2 separate regions of the Homo sapiens genome follow, and region 1 is linked to region 2. The links are contacts of gene promoters, found by promoter capture Hi-C in human tissues and cell types (Jung and others, 2019). All regions are on one chromosome and are shown on one strand. Each heading gives the region's core, a stretch centred on a gene start or on the middle of the fragment in contact. The rest is flanking DNA. Distances are from core to core; before and after follow the strand shown. Region 1 overlaps DNAH10 (dynein axonemal heavy chain 10). Region 2 holds the start of RILPL1 (Rab interacting lysosomal protein like 1).

What was found. The method cuts DNA at HindIII sites, captures the fragments that hold promoters and counts their contacts. A contact is called where the count stands out against the background at its distance.
Region 1: a fragment that was not itself captured here is called in contact with the fragment with the promoter of RILPL1 in region 2 in 2 of the 25 tissues and cell types used here (lymphoblastoid cells and spleen).

The regions. Positions count from the first base shown.
Region 1 is chr12:123,772,893-123,778,765 of GRCh38, reverse strand. DNAH10 (dynein axonemal heavy chain 10) reads right to left here. Exons shown (of 79, transcript NM_001372106.1): 4 at 5,824-5,873; 5 at 4,502-4,617. All of the region lies in intron 4 of LOC105370044 (a long non-coding RNA gene), which reads left to right. Among named protein-coding and RNA genes, the nearest start is that of DNAH10, 14 kb to the right of the region's middle. The HindIII fragment of the contact is 6,321 bases long and covers 275-5,873 here.
Region 2 is chr12:123,531,306-123,537,371 of GRCh38, reverse strand. It overlaps RILPL1 (Rab interacting lysosomal protein like 1), which reads left to right and starts at 3,653. Exons shown (of 7, transcript NM_178314.5): 1 at 3,653-4,198. The coding sequence starts at 3,890. MIR3908 (microRNA 3908) reads right to left here and starts at 963; the gene lies at 838-963. RefSeq lists silencers at 2,725-2,910, 2,930-3,619 and an enhancer at 3,835-4,652. The HindIII fragment of the contact is 25,082 bases long and covers 1-6,066 here.

The DNA of each region.
Region 1 (5,873 bases), core at 2,186-4,685, 240 kb before region 2:
AACTGTGTCTCTTAAAAAAATGTTTTTAACTCATGCATTTGAACATATATATTTTTTTTCTTTTTTTTTTGAGATGGAGTCTCTTTCTGTCACCCAGGCTGGAGTGCAGTGACATGACCTCAGCTCACTGCAACCTCCACCTCCTGGGTTCAAGCAATTCTCCTCCCTCAGCCTCCCAAGTAGCTGGGACTACAGGTGCATGCCACCATGCCCAGCTAATTTTTGTAATTTTAGTAGAGATGGAGGTTTCGCCATATTGATCAGGCTGGTCTCGAACTCCTGACCTCAGGTGATCCATCCACCTTGGCCTCCCAAAGTGCTGGGATTACAGGCACGAGTCACTGCGCCTGGCTGTATTTGAATATATTTTCTATGCTTCAACCCACTGCAATTTTATCCTTACTGAAGGTCAAAATATCCCATCTGTGGCTGGCATGAGCCTCTTCAAGTTGAGCCCTGTGTCCTTTAGACATGACTGGTTGTCATAATGCATATAACCACTAAGAATTAATTATACATCATGTTTTGATGTCATCTTATTTATTTTTCATTTTTTTTTTTTAGAGATGGAGTATCTCTCTGTCACCCAGGCTGTAGTACAGTGGCATGACCACCATGCACTGCAACCTTAAACTCCTGGGTTCAAGCGATCCTCCCACTTCAGCCTCCAGAGTAGCTGGGACTACAGACACCCACAGCCATGCCCAGCAGATTTTTCTTTTTCTTTTTGGTAGAGATGGGGTTGATGTTATTTTGTTATTTTAGAATGAAAAGTTCAGTTTGCATAAGAAGGTAGCCAGTGTGGCCAGATATGGTGGCTCATGCCTGCAATCCCAACATTTTGGGAGGCCGAGGAGGGCAGATCACTTGAGCCCAGGAGTTTGAGACCAGCCTTGGCAACATACTGAGACACCGTCTTTAAAAAAAAAATACAAAAATCATCCAGGCATTGTGGCGTGCACCTGGCTAATTTTTAGTAATCCTCCCAGCTACTCAGGAGGCTGAGGTGGGAGGATCGTTTAAGCCTGGGAGGTTAAGGCTGCAGTGAGCCATGCTCGCGCCACTGCACTCCAGCCTAGGTGGCAGAATGAGACGCTGTCTCAAAAATAAGTAAATAAAAATAAATAAATAAATAAGAAGGTAGCCAATGTTCTTGAGTCCTCCAAAGTCACACTAGAAAAAGACATCATCCCGATGAAGGAGGTTGTCTTCAGGTAGAAAGTCCCTTGTGTGCAGGCAGCTCAGTGGGGAGGGCCCCACAGCCTAACTCACAGGATGACTTGTACTCCGTGAGACCTCGTCTGCTCCCATCCCCAGAACTGCTCACATGGAAGTCACCCAGGGCCAAGCCCTCCAGCTCTTCTTTGCCTGTGCCTTCTTGACTTCCAGCAGCAAGTGGCACGGCGGGCCCCTCCCTTCTTCAGTGAAGCATTGTCTTCTCTTGGCTTCTGGATCACCCACGTCCTAACTTTCCTCTCCCCTCATCTCTTCCATCTCTACTCCCTCCCTTGGTTGTTCCACCCAGTCCCTTGGTTTTACACCATCTCTGTGCTGATGATGCCCATGTTTTAAAGCATCACTCTGGTTGGCATGTGGAGAAGGCAGCGTAGAGGGTAAGAACAGAAACTGAGGGATCTTTTTGGAGGCTCCTGCGATAGTCCAAGCAAAAGAGGATATTGTGTTGGTTTGGACTTTTTTGTCCAAATCTTCTCAGTGAAGTCTTCCTGGCCACCCTATCTAAAATTGCAAAAGCCCCACCTTTCCACCTATCAACTTTCCCTCTCCCCCTTGTTTCCTTTTTCTTTCCTATCTGGCTTCATTTTTCTCCCTAACTCTTGTTGCTGTCTAACACACTATATATTTTCTCATTGATCTTGGTTAATGTACATCTTCCTGTCTAGAATGAAAGCTCCACGAGGCAGAGACCTTGTCTCAGTTGTTCATTGCTATGAAATACAGTAGGTGCTCAATGAATATTTGCTAGACGGATGCCCTGAGTTCCCCGCAGAGCTCCAGATTCATACATCCTGCTTCACGTCTTGATTTGAATGTCTAAGAGGCCACCTGTGCTTAACATTATACATCATGTTTTGATGTTATCTTAATTTATTTTTCTTTTTTTTTTTTTTAGAGATGGAATATCTCTCTGTCACCCAGGCTGTAGTGCAGTGGCATGACCACCATACTCTGCAACCTTCCCGTCTAGAATGCAAAATACAACACTTGAGTTTCCCTCCATATCTGTTTCTCCCCATCCTCCATCTCAGTAATGACTTCACCATCCTCCCAGTTTCTCAGGCCCAAATCCTAAGAGTCATTCTTTTTTAAATTTTTTTTTAGAGATGGGGCCTTGCTATATCGCCCAGGCTGTTCTCAAACTCCTAGCCTCAAGCGATCCTCCCGCCTCACCCTCCTAAAGTGCTGGGACCAAGAGTCATTCTTGGTACTCTCTATTCTTGTGATACTCTTCAAAGCCTCCAGATCCCGGTCATTAGCAAGTCCCATGGCCTGATCCTCAAGGCATTCCTCACACTGTCTGCTTCTCCCTCCCTCCCCTGATTGGAGCCTAAATAACCATCACCCTTGATGTGGTTTGGCCGTGTCCCCACCCAAATCTCATCTTTAATTGTAGTTCCCATAATCCCCACGTGTCATGGGAGAGACCTGGTGGGAGGTAATTGAATGATGGGGGAGGTTACCCCCATGCCACTGTTCTCATGATAGTGAGTGAGTTCTCATGAGATCTGATGGTTTTATAAGCGGCTTTTCCCTCTTTGCTCAGCACTTCTCCTTCCTGCCGTCATATGAAGAAGGATGTGTTTGCTTCCCCTTCCACCATGATTTTAAGTTTCCTGAGGCCTCCACAGCCATGCAGAACTGTGACTCAATTTAGCCTCTTTCCTTTATAAATTATGGGCAGTTCCCTACAGCAGCATGAAAATGGACTAATACAGCCCTCCACCTGGGCTCTTCCATGGCTTTCTATTTGGTCTTTCCTTCCCCTCCACCCCAGCAATATGTTTTCCCACAATAGCCAGAGGTAAAATGCAAACCAGATCCTGTTGTTCCCCTGCTTAAACCTGCCTTCATTTCCAGCCCTCCCTCCAGCCACAGTGGCCATCCTCCTGCTACTGGGCCAAGCTGAGGCTGCTTCTACCTCAGGGCCTTTGCACCTGCTGTTCTCTCTGCCCAGCATGCTCTTCCTCCACATCCTATCATGTCTGATGCCTTGGCCTCATTTGGGTCTCAGTTCAATATCACCTCTTCCTTCCTTCCCTAGTGCATTTCCCTAATAACTTATCATTCATGAAAAAGGCCTGCTGATGAGTTTTTCATTTTTTTGGTCTATAAAGCTCAGGCCAAGCATGGTGGCTCATGCCTGTAATCACAGCACTTTGGGAGGCCAAGGCGGGCAGATTGTTTGAGCCCAGGAGTTGGAGACCAGCCTAGGCAACATGGTGAGACCCTGTCTCTACAATAAGTACAAAAATGAGCCAGGCATGGTGGTGTATGCCTGTAATCCCAGCCACTCAGGAGGCTGAGGCAGAAGGATCACTTGAGAGTTGAGGCTGCAGTGAGCCGTGATTGGGCCACTGCACTCCAGACTGGATGGCGGAGAGACCCTGTCTCGAAAAACAATAAAAATAAAAAAGAAAGCTTAGACATCACATCCTCAGCAAGGCCATTCCTCACCATGCCCTCTGCACACACACAGTGCACATGCCTATTTCTGTCTCATATCAGGGTTTATTTTCCTCATGCCACTTGTCGGTATTTTCTCATAGATGTGCTTGTGTGCCATGTCTTTCCCCTACATAAGCTCCTGGAGAGCAGGGCCATTGCCTGTCCTGTCCACTGCTTGACCCTCAGTGTTGGGAGCAAGACCCCAAAATCTGGCCACAAACTGGCCCCAAAACTGGCCATAAATAAAATCTCTGCAGCATGGTAACATGTCCATAATGGCCCCAACGCCCAAGCTGGAAGGTTGTGGGTTTACGGGAATGAGGGCAAGGAACACCTGGCCCGCCCAGGGTGGAAAACCGCTGAAAGCCATTCTTAAGCCACAGGCAATAGCATGAGCGATTTATGCCTTAAGGACATGCTCCTGCTGCAGTTAACTAGCCCACCTATTTCTTTAATTCGGCCCATCCCTTCGTTTCCCATAAGGGATACTTTTAGTTAATTTAATATCTATAGAAACAATGCTAATGACTGGTTTGCTGTTAATAAATATGTGGGTAAATCTCTGTTTGCGGCTCTCAGCTCTGAAGGCTGTGAGACACCTGATTTCCCACTTCACACCTTTATATTTCTGTGTGTGTGTCTTTAATTTCTCTAGCGCCGCTGGGTTAGGGTCTCCCCAACCGAGCTGGTCTCAGCACCTCAGTGCCCATAACAGCACCTGAGACAGAAGAGCTGCCCGCTACCTATTTGTGGAATAAACAAACCACATGACCTCAACTTTAGAAATACTAGAATTTCTTCCTTTCTCCATGTTTACCTGACATATAATATTCTTCAGAAAATGGAGCACATTAGCGTTTATAATTCCATACTCCAGTGTTTCTGGCATAATTTCCATAGCTTCCTTCATGTCGGTAGCTTCAGAGATTGCCTCTAAAGAAGAACAGGTGTAGAATGTAAGGTCAGTGGGAGAGAGCAGCCAACAGTTAACATTTCCAAGAGAACAGGAATCTTCTCCTTCTTCCCAAGCTGCTACAAGGAATGTTCTGGTTACAGATTCAGAATATCCCCTATTTGTGTTTAAACAAATCTGAGGGCCCATGAGAAGCTGAAATGGATACCAATGCACTGTGGTTCGTGGATTAGTATGAACAGTGCACAAGAGCTGCACACATTTGCTGATCTGGTTGGAGTATCTAACGCTGGACAAAATCAGAAATTATTTGGGTTGTCTAGAAATGTTGGCTGGATTCTTTGCTGCTATGGACTGAATGACCCCAAAATCCACATGTTGAAGCTTAAATCCCCAAGGTGAAGGTATTAGAAGGTGGGGCCTTTGGTAGGTGATTAGGTCATGAGGGTGGAGTCTCACGATTGGATTGGTGTCCCTATAGGAAGAGACAGGAGAGCTTGCTCTCTCTCTCTCTGCTCTCCACCATGGGAGGATAGGAGAAGGTGCCATCTGTGAACCAGGAAGTGGCCCTCACCAGATGCCAGATCTGCCAGCACCTTGATTTGGACTTCCCAGCCTCCAGAGCTGTGAGAAATAGATGTTTGTTGGTGAAGCCCCCCAGCCTATGGCAATTTGTTACAACCATCCAAGCTGGCTTGGGCATGGGCTTTGCCTGTCTTCACTCCCCAGCAAGTCTTCCTCAATTCATTGCCAAAGCATATTTTGAGTCATGGGTTGTTTGAAAAGACCTACTTGGTAATATCTACCCTTCCAACAAACAAGGTTTTATTTGATATGTATTTGCTCTACCTGACCAAAAATCAATCACCATGGTAAACATTTTAAAGGTTACTTGGACTCTTCCCTTGATCTAACTGGGAAACAAAAGAGACACAAGAAATATGCCCACTGAAGCCATTATTTCACAAGTTTCAGTCTTCACACCTTCTCCAAATATGTGCAGACATGCACTATCACTGGCTGAATACATTTCTTTATCTCTAACACTTCTTTACTGGAAATTAGCTTTGAGAAGACTACGTAAGAACCCAGTACAGTATGGAAAAGAAAGAGAGCTTGGCATAGGTGAAAGATAACCATAAAAAGACAACAGAATGAGAGTGAACAAGTGCATGCACAACCACACCCCCTCAACACACATACACACACACGTGCCAGAAATGTACCTTTGGTATTTCTGAGGAAAAACACCACGTTTTGGTCCAGGAACTCCTCG
Region 2 (6,066 bases), core at 2,404-4,903:
GCACGGGCCACACACCGGCTAATTTTTATATTTTTAGTAGAGACAGGATTTCACCATGTTGGGCAGGCTGGTCTCAAACTCCCGATCTGAGGTGATCCGCCCACCTCAGCCTCCCAAAGTGCTAGGATTACAGGCGTAAGCCACTGTGTCTAGCCTTGAAAGAGCTTTTGTTAGGTGAGTTATATCTGCTCATATCTACTGTAAATAGAAATTTATAATCCCAGCTAACTCAGGAGGCTGAAGTGGGAGGACCGCTTGAGCCCAGGAGTTTGAGGCTGCAGTGAGCTACGATCGCACCACTGCACTACCTTGGGCAACAGAACTAGACCCTGAAAAGAAAGAAAGAAAGAAAGAGAGAGAGAGGGAGGGAGGGAGGGAGGGAGGGAGGGAGGGAGGGAGAGAGAAAGAGAGAGAAAGGAAAGAAAGAAAGAAAGAAAGAAAGAAAGAAAGAAAGAAAGAGAAAGGAAAGGAAAGGAAAGGAAGAAAGAAAGGGGAGGGGAGGGGAGGGAAGGGAAGAAGAAGAAAAAGAAAAGAAAAGAAAAGAAATTTAAACTGATGCTTTAAAAAATATTAATTAAAAAATAGTCCGGGAGGATGGCTTATGCCTGTAATCCCAGCACTTTGGGAGGCTGAGGCAGGCAGATTGCCTGAGGTCAGGAGTTCGAGATCAGTCTGGCTAACATGGTGAAACCCCCTCTCTACTAAAAATACAAAAAAATCGGCCAGGCATGGTGGCATGCGCCTGTAATCCTAGCTACTTGGGGGCTGAGGCAGGGAAATTGCTTGAACCTGGGAGGTCGAAGCTGCAGCGAGCTGAGATCGAGCCACTGCACTCTAGCCTGGCGACAGAGGGAGACTCTGTCTCCAAAAAAAAAAAAAAAAATTAGTAAACACATTACACGTTAACATAAATTTTTTTAACTTTTTATTTTTTTAGAAACAGTCTACCTACATTGCTCAGGCTAGACTAGAACTCTTGAACTCAAGGGATCCTCCCACTGGAGTAGCTGGAACTACAGGCTCACGCCACCGTGCTAGATAACGTATGAGTTTTTTTGTTGTTTTTGAGACAGGGTCTCCCTATGTCACCCAGGTTGGAGTGCAGTGGTGTAATCACAGCTCACTGCAACCTCTGCTCCCTGGGACTCAAGTCATCCTTCCACCTCAGTCTCCCGAGTAGCTGGGACTACAGGCACTTGCCACCAGAGTCGGGTAATTTTTATTTAATTAATTAATTAATTTATTTATTTATTTATTTTGAGACAGAGTCTCGCTTTGTCACCCAGGCTGGAGTGCAGTGGCACGATCTCGATCTCAGCTCACTGCAACCTCTGCCTCCCGGGTTCAAGTGATCCTCCTGCCTCAGCCTCCTGAGTAGCTGGGATTACAGGCGCCTGCCACCACGCCTGGCTAATTTTTTTTTTTTTTTGTATTTTTAGTAGAGATGAGGTTTCACCATGTTGGCCAGGCTGATCTTGAACTCCTGACCTCAACTGATCTGCCCCCCTTGGCCTCCCAAAGTGCTGGGATTACAGGCATAAGTCACTGCAACCAGACTTTTTTTTAAATAGAGACGGGGTTTTGCCATGCTGCCCAGGCTGGTCTCGAAATCTTGGGCTCAAGTGATCCTCCAGCCCTGGCCTCCCAAAGTGCTAGGATTACAAGCATGAGCCACTGTGGCCAGGAGTATTTATTTTTATTTTTTATTTTTCTGAGACAGAGTTTCGCTCTGTCGCCCAGTTTGGAGCATAGTGGTGTGATCTCAACTCACTGCAACCTCTGCCTCCCAGGCTCAAGGGATCTTCCCACCTCAGCCTCCCAAATACCTGGGACTACAGGCTCTCACCACCACGTCTGGCTAATTTTTTTATTTTACTTTTTTTTTTTTCTTTTTTTTTTTTGAGACGGAGTTTCGCTCTTGTTGCCCAAGCTGGAGTGCAGTGGCACGATCTTGGCTCACTGCAACCTCTGCCTCCCAGGCTCAAATGATTCTCGCGCCTCAGCCTCTTGAGTAGCTGGGATTACAGGCACATGCCACCATGTCTGGCTAATTTTTGTATTTTTAGTAGAGGCGTGGTTTCACCATGTTGGCCAGGCTGGTCTCGAACTCCTGAGCTCTAGAAATTTTCCCACCTCGGCCTCCCAAAGTGCTGGGATTACAGGCGTGAGCCACCCCGCCTGGCCTTAATTTTTTTTTTTTTACTATTTATTTATTTATTTATTGTATTATATTATTATTTTGAGATGGAGTCTTGCTCTGTCACCCAGCCTGCAGTGCAGTGGCGCGATTTCGGCTTGCTGCAACCTCCGCCTCCCGGGTTTAAGCAACTCTCTGCCTCAGCCTCCTGAGTAGCTGGGATTACAGGCATGCGCCACCATGCCCGGCTAATTTTTGTATTTTTAGTAGAGACGGGGTTTCACCACCTTGGCTAGGCTGGTCTTGAACTCCTGACCTCGTCCACCTCAGTCTCCCAAAGTGCTGGGATTACAGGCGTGAGCCACCGCGCCCGGCCAACTTTTAGATTTTTAATCAATACGTGCCACGTTGGGGTGCGCTTTATGGCTACAAGGGCATTAAGATTTCTTCCCTCAAGGAGCCAAGATCTGACGGTGGAAACCTACCTGCAACCACACGGTGAAAACTCAGGATGCTAAGAGCAATCCTGATGGGGCAAGCAGGGGACTGTGAGTTTGCAAGGGGGTCCTTAACTCCTGCGTGGGGGGCGGGGAGGGTGGATGGGGTTCTGGGTTCAGGAAACGTTCTCCCGGGAGTGGGAGGGGGTCTGATGGACAAGTGGATTTGGCCAGCCCAAATGGACAGGGGGCCTTGGGACAAGAGAACTCGTGGTGCTGGAATGCCAAGCGGGCTTCGCTCTACTGTGAAGTGGCGTTCATGTCACAAGGAGCCAGTGATGGATGTGGCTCGGGGAGGCGCGCCCTGGGGCTCCGGGGATCCAGCATTCCTCGACACGTCGGCCCCTCTCCGGGCGCCTCTGCAAGTCCGCCTGGTGGCCGGGTCTGCGCGGAGTGTCTGCGGGCCGGGGGGGGTCCCCGTTCTCTTCCTGGGATGAGCCCCAGCCCGGGGACCTCCTCGTGACCCCTCCATCCCTCTCCAAGGCCGGGGCCGCTACCCGGAGCAGCGAATCGTCCCGCGAGACCAGCGCCCCCGGCCCCCTCTCCCGGGGCGGCCTGGACCCCTCCCGGCGGCCGGGTGGTGGGAGGAGTCAGCGCCGGGCGGGGGAGGGGCGGCCGGGGCACGGGTGAGGGGCGCCGCGGGTCCGGCGGCTGGAGAGGGGGGCCCGGAGTGCAGGCCGCGGAGTCGGCGCTTGGGGGGGTACCCCGGGGCGCCCCCGGGCGGCGGAAAGCGGGCGCGCCCCTGGCCAGGCCGGGATTGGGGCGGGGCGCGCGGCCTCCCTGTGGGGAAGCGATCACCCGGCCTCGCAGCCGCCGCCGCCAAAGTTTCCCGGAGGAGCCGCGGGCCGCCCTTCCTCTCCGGCCCCGCGCTCTGCCGCCCCTCAGGCCCGCACCGCCCCGAGGCGCCCGGCCCGGCTCCATTGAGCGCAACTCGGATCCCAACTTGGGAGGCGCCGCGGGCCTGCGCACGCGCGCGCCCTCCCCGCTGCCGCCGCCGCCGCCGCCGCCGCCGCCGCCCACTCGGGAGCAGCTCCGGGCCGAGCCGGGCGCCCAGACCCCGGGCCCGCACACCCCGCGCCGCCGCCCGTGCCCGCGCCCGCGCCCGCCGCCCGCTGCCCGCTGCGCCCTCGCCCCAGCGCCCGCTGAGCGCGCCCGCCCGCGGCCCAGGCTGGGCCCGGCCGGCCCGGCCCTCGACAGCGGCAAGTTTGGGAGTTGCACGAGTTTGCGGGGCGGGGGACAGGCCAGGAGGGTGGCCATGGAGGAGGAGCGGGGGTCGGCGCTGGCGGCCGAGTCGGCGCTGGAGAAGAACGTGGCCGAGCTGACCGTCATGGACGTGTACGACATCGCGTCGCTTGTGGGCCACGAGTTCGAGCGGGTCATTGACCAGCACGGCTGCGAGGCCATCGCGCGCCTCATGCCCAAGGTCGTGCGCGTCCTGGAGATCCTGGAGGTGCTGGTCAGCCGCCACCACGTCGCGCCCGAGCTGGACGAGCTGCGCCTGGAGCTGGACCGCCTGCGCCTGGAGAGGATGGACCGCATCGAGAAGGAGCGCAAGCACCAGAAGGTGGGCGGCGGCCTCGGTCTGTCCGTCCGGGCAGTGGGACCGCGGGGACCCAAGGGCTCTTCCGCATTGGGCAGCTGTGGGTGCGCACGTGTGTGTGTTCAGGGACCGGACCAGAGGAGACCCGACGTGGGGAGGGAGGGAGGCCCTGGCCTTCTTTTGCCCGACCAGGGGTGGCTGGCAGATACCACCCGAGAGATTAAGAGCTGTTCTCTGGAGTTCCAATCCCACCTTTACCGTTTAATAGCTGTGTGACTTTAGGTAAGTTACTTAACCTCTCTGTGCTTTATTTCCTCACCTGTCAAATGGTAATCATAATAGGACCCACCTTAGAAGAATTAAATGGGACCATATAAGCTAAGTGCTTAGACATATTATTCTCTTCCAGACATGAAATAAGCCTCTTGGCCTCCCGAGTTACCAAGAAGATGTGACATCAGGCCCAGGACCCTTTCTTCATCCCCCCCCCCCCCAGTCTCCCCAGAGCAAAGGGAATGTGACCTCCAGCCACTGAGCTTCGTGACCCCTAGTCTTCGGGTTCATATTTGCAACTTTCTTCCCGGGACTCCCCTAGCTTATGAACCTGTGGTAGCCCGTGTTCTCTCCTCTGATTTTATCCTTAATCCTCACAGGACTCTATAGAGACTATCTTCATTTTACAGATAAAGAAACCGAGGGTCACAGTGGGAGGAGCAATTTGTCCCAAATTAGTGGTGAGAGAGTCCCAGCCCCCGTGTCTCCTCCCCACCCTGTTTGAATTGGGGGAAAGGGATGATTTGGGGTGGCTTTAAGGCTAAGCCTCTGCCCTGTGATCAGGAGTCTCTCTGAATCAGGGCCTCCCCACTGGGCCTGGAGTTCAGACGAGGTTTCTGGAGAAAAGGAAGTGAAAGACATGTGGTTTCCTGCCCTAACCTCAGCCAGGGATGCTCTTGGCAGCCCCTTCAGACTGAGAATGGGAGGAAACACCTTTCCTTGAGGGATCAGGGTGCCTGAGCAGTCTCCAGCTTGCTGTTCAGCCTCAGGAAATACAGATGGCCTCTCTGAACCTCAGGGGCAGGCCATCCCTTATTGTGTACTTTGATGGATCTCTGTGTTTTGGAGTAAAATAGCCAAAGCTGGGTCTGAACCCTTTACCTGAGGGCAGACCCACAGGTAGGTAACAGCACCATTGCCATGTTTGACTGTGCTCGTCCTCATGGGTCCCTATGCCCTAGGGGCAGGAAGGAAACTCAGGCTCCCAAGAGTTGAGCAGCATTTCCGAGGTCACTCTGGGAGCCTGAAAATGCTTTGACCTGTAATTAATTTCAAGACTCCTAGAAGCTAGGACTTTGGAGCTAGACAGCCTGGTTTCAAACCCTACCACTTGCAGGCTGTGTGATCTTGGGCAAATCACCCAGCATCTCTGTGCTTCAGTTTCCTCAGTTCTAAAATGGGATAGTAATAGTACCCCCATTAGAATGTGATGAGGTTTAAAGAGTTAATATAAATACATATAAAGTGTTCAGGACAGAGCCTGCCCATAGCAAGGGCTTTGCAAGTCTTAAAATTCTTTTTAGGCCTGGAGAGACATTCATTGAGGTGCTCACAGGCTCATATTAGGAAACCGTCCCCACCCCAAGCACCTCTACTCCTACCCTAGAGGCCTCCATCTCTCATAGAGGGTCAAGGAGGCAAGGGACCTTGGAAATTCTCTCGTGTGGCGCCTCTTATTAACAGGGACCAAGGGGCTTTGACCAGATCACACAGAAGTCCTGGCACCTATACTGTCCCCCAACTGGGGCTCTTTAGTTCTGTTGCGGGGGAGCTGGGAGAAATCCTTGGAAGCCATCGGAGGCCACCAGGTCTGAAGTCACATGGAATTGTCAGCAGCT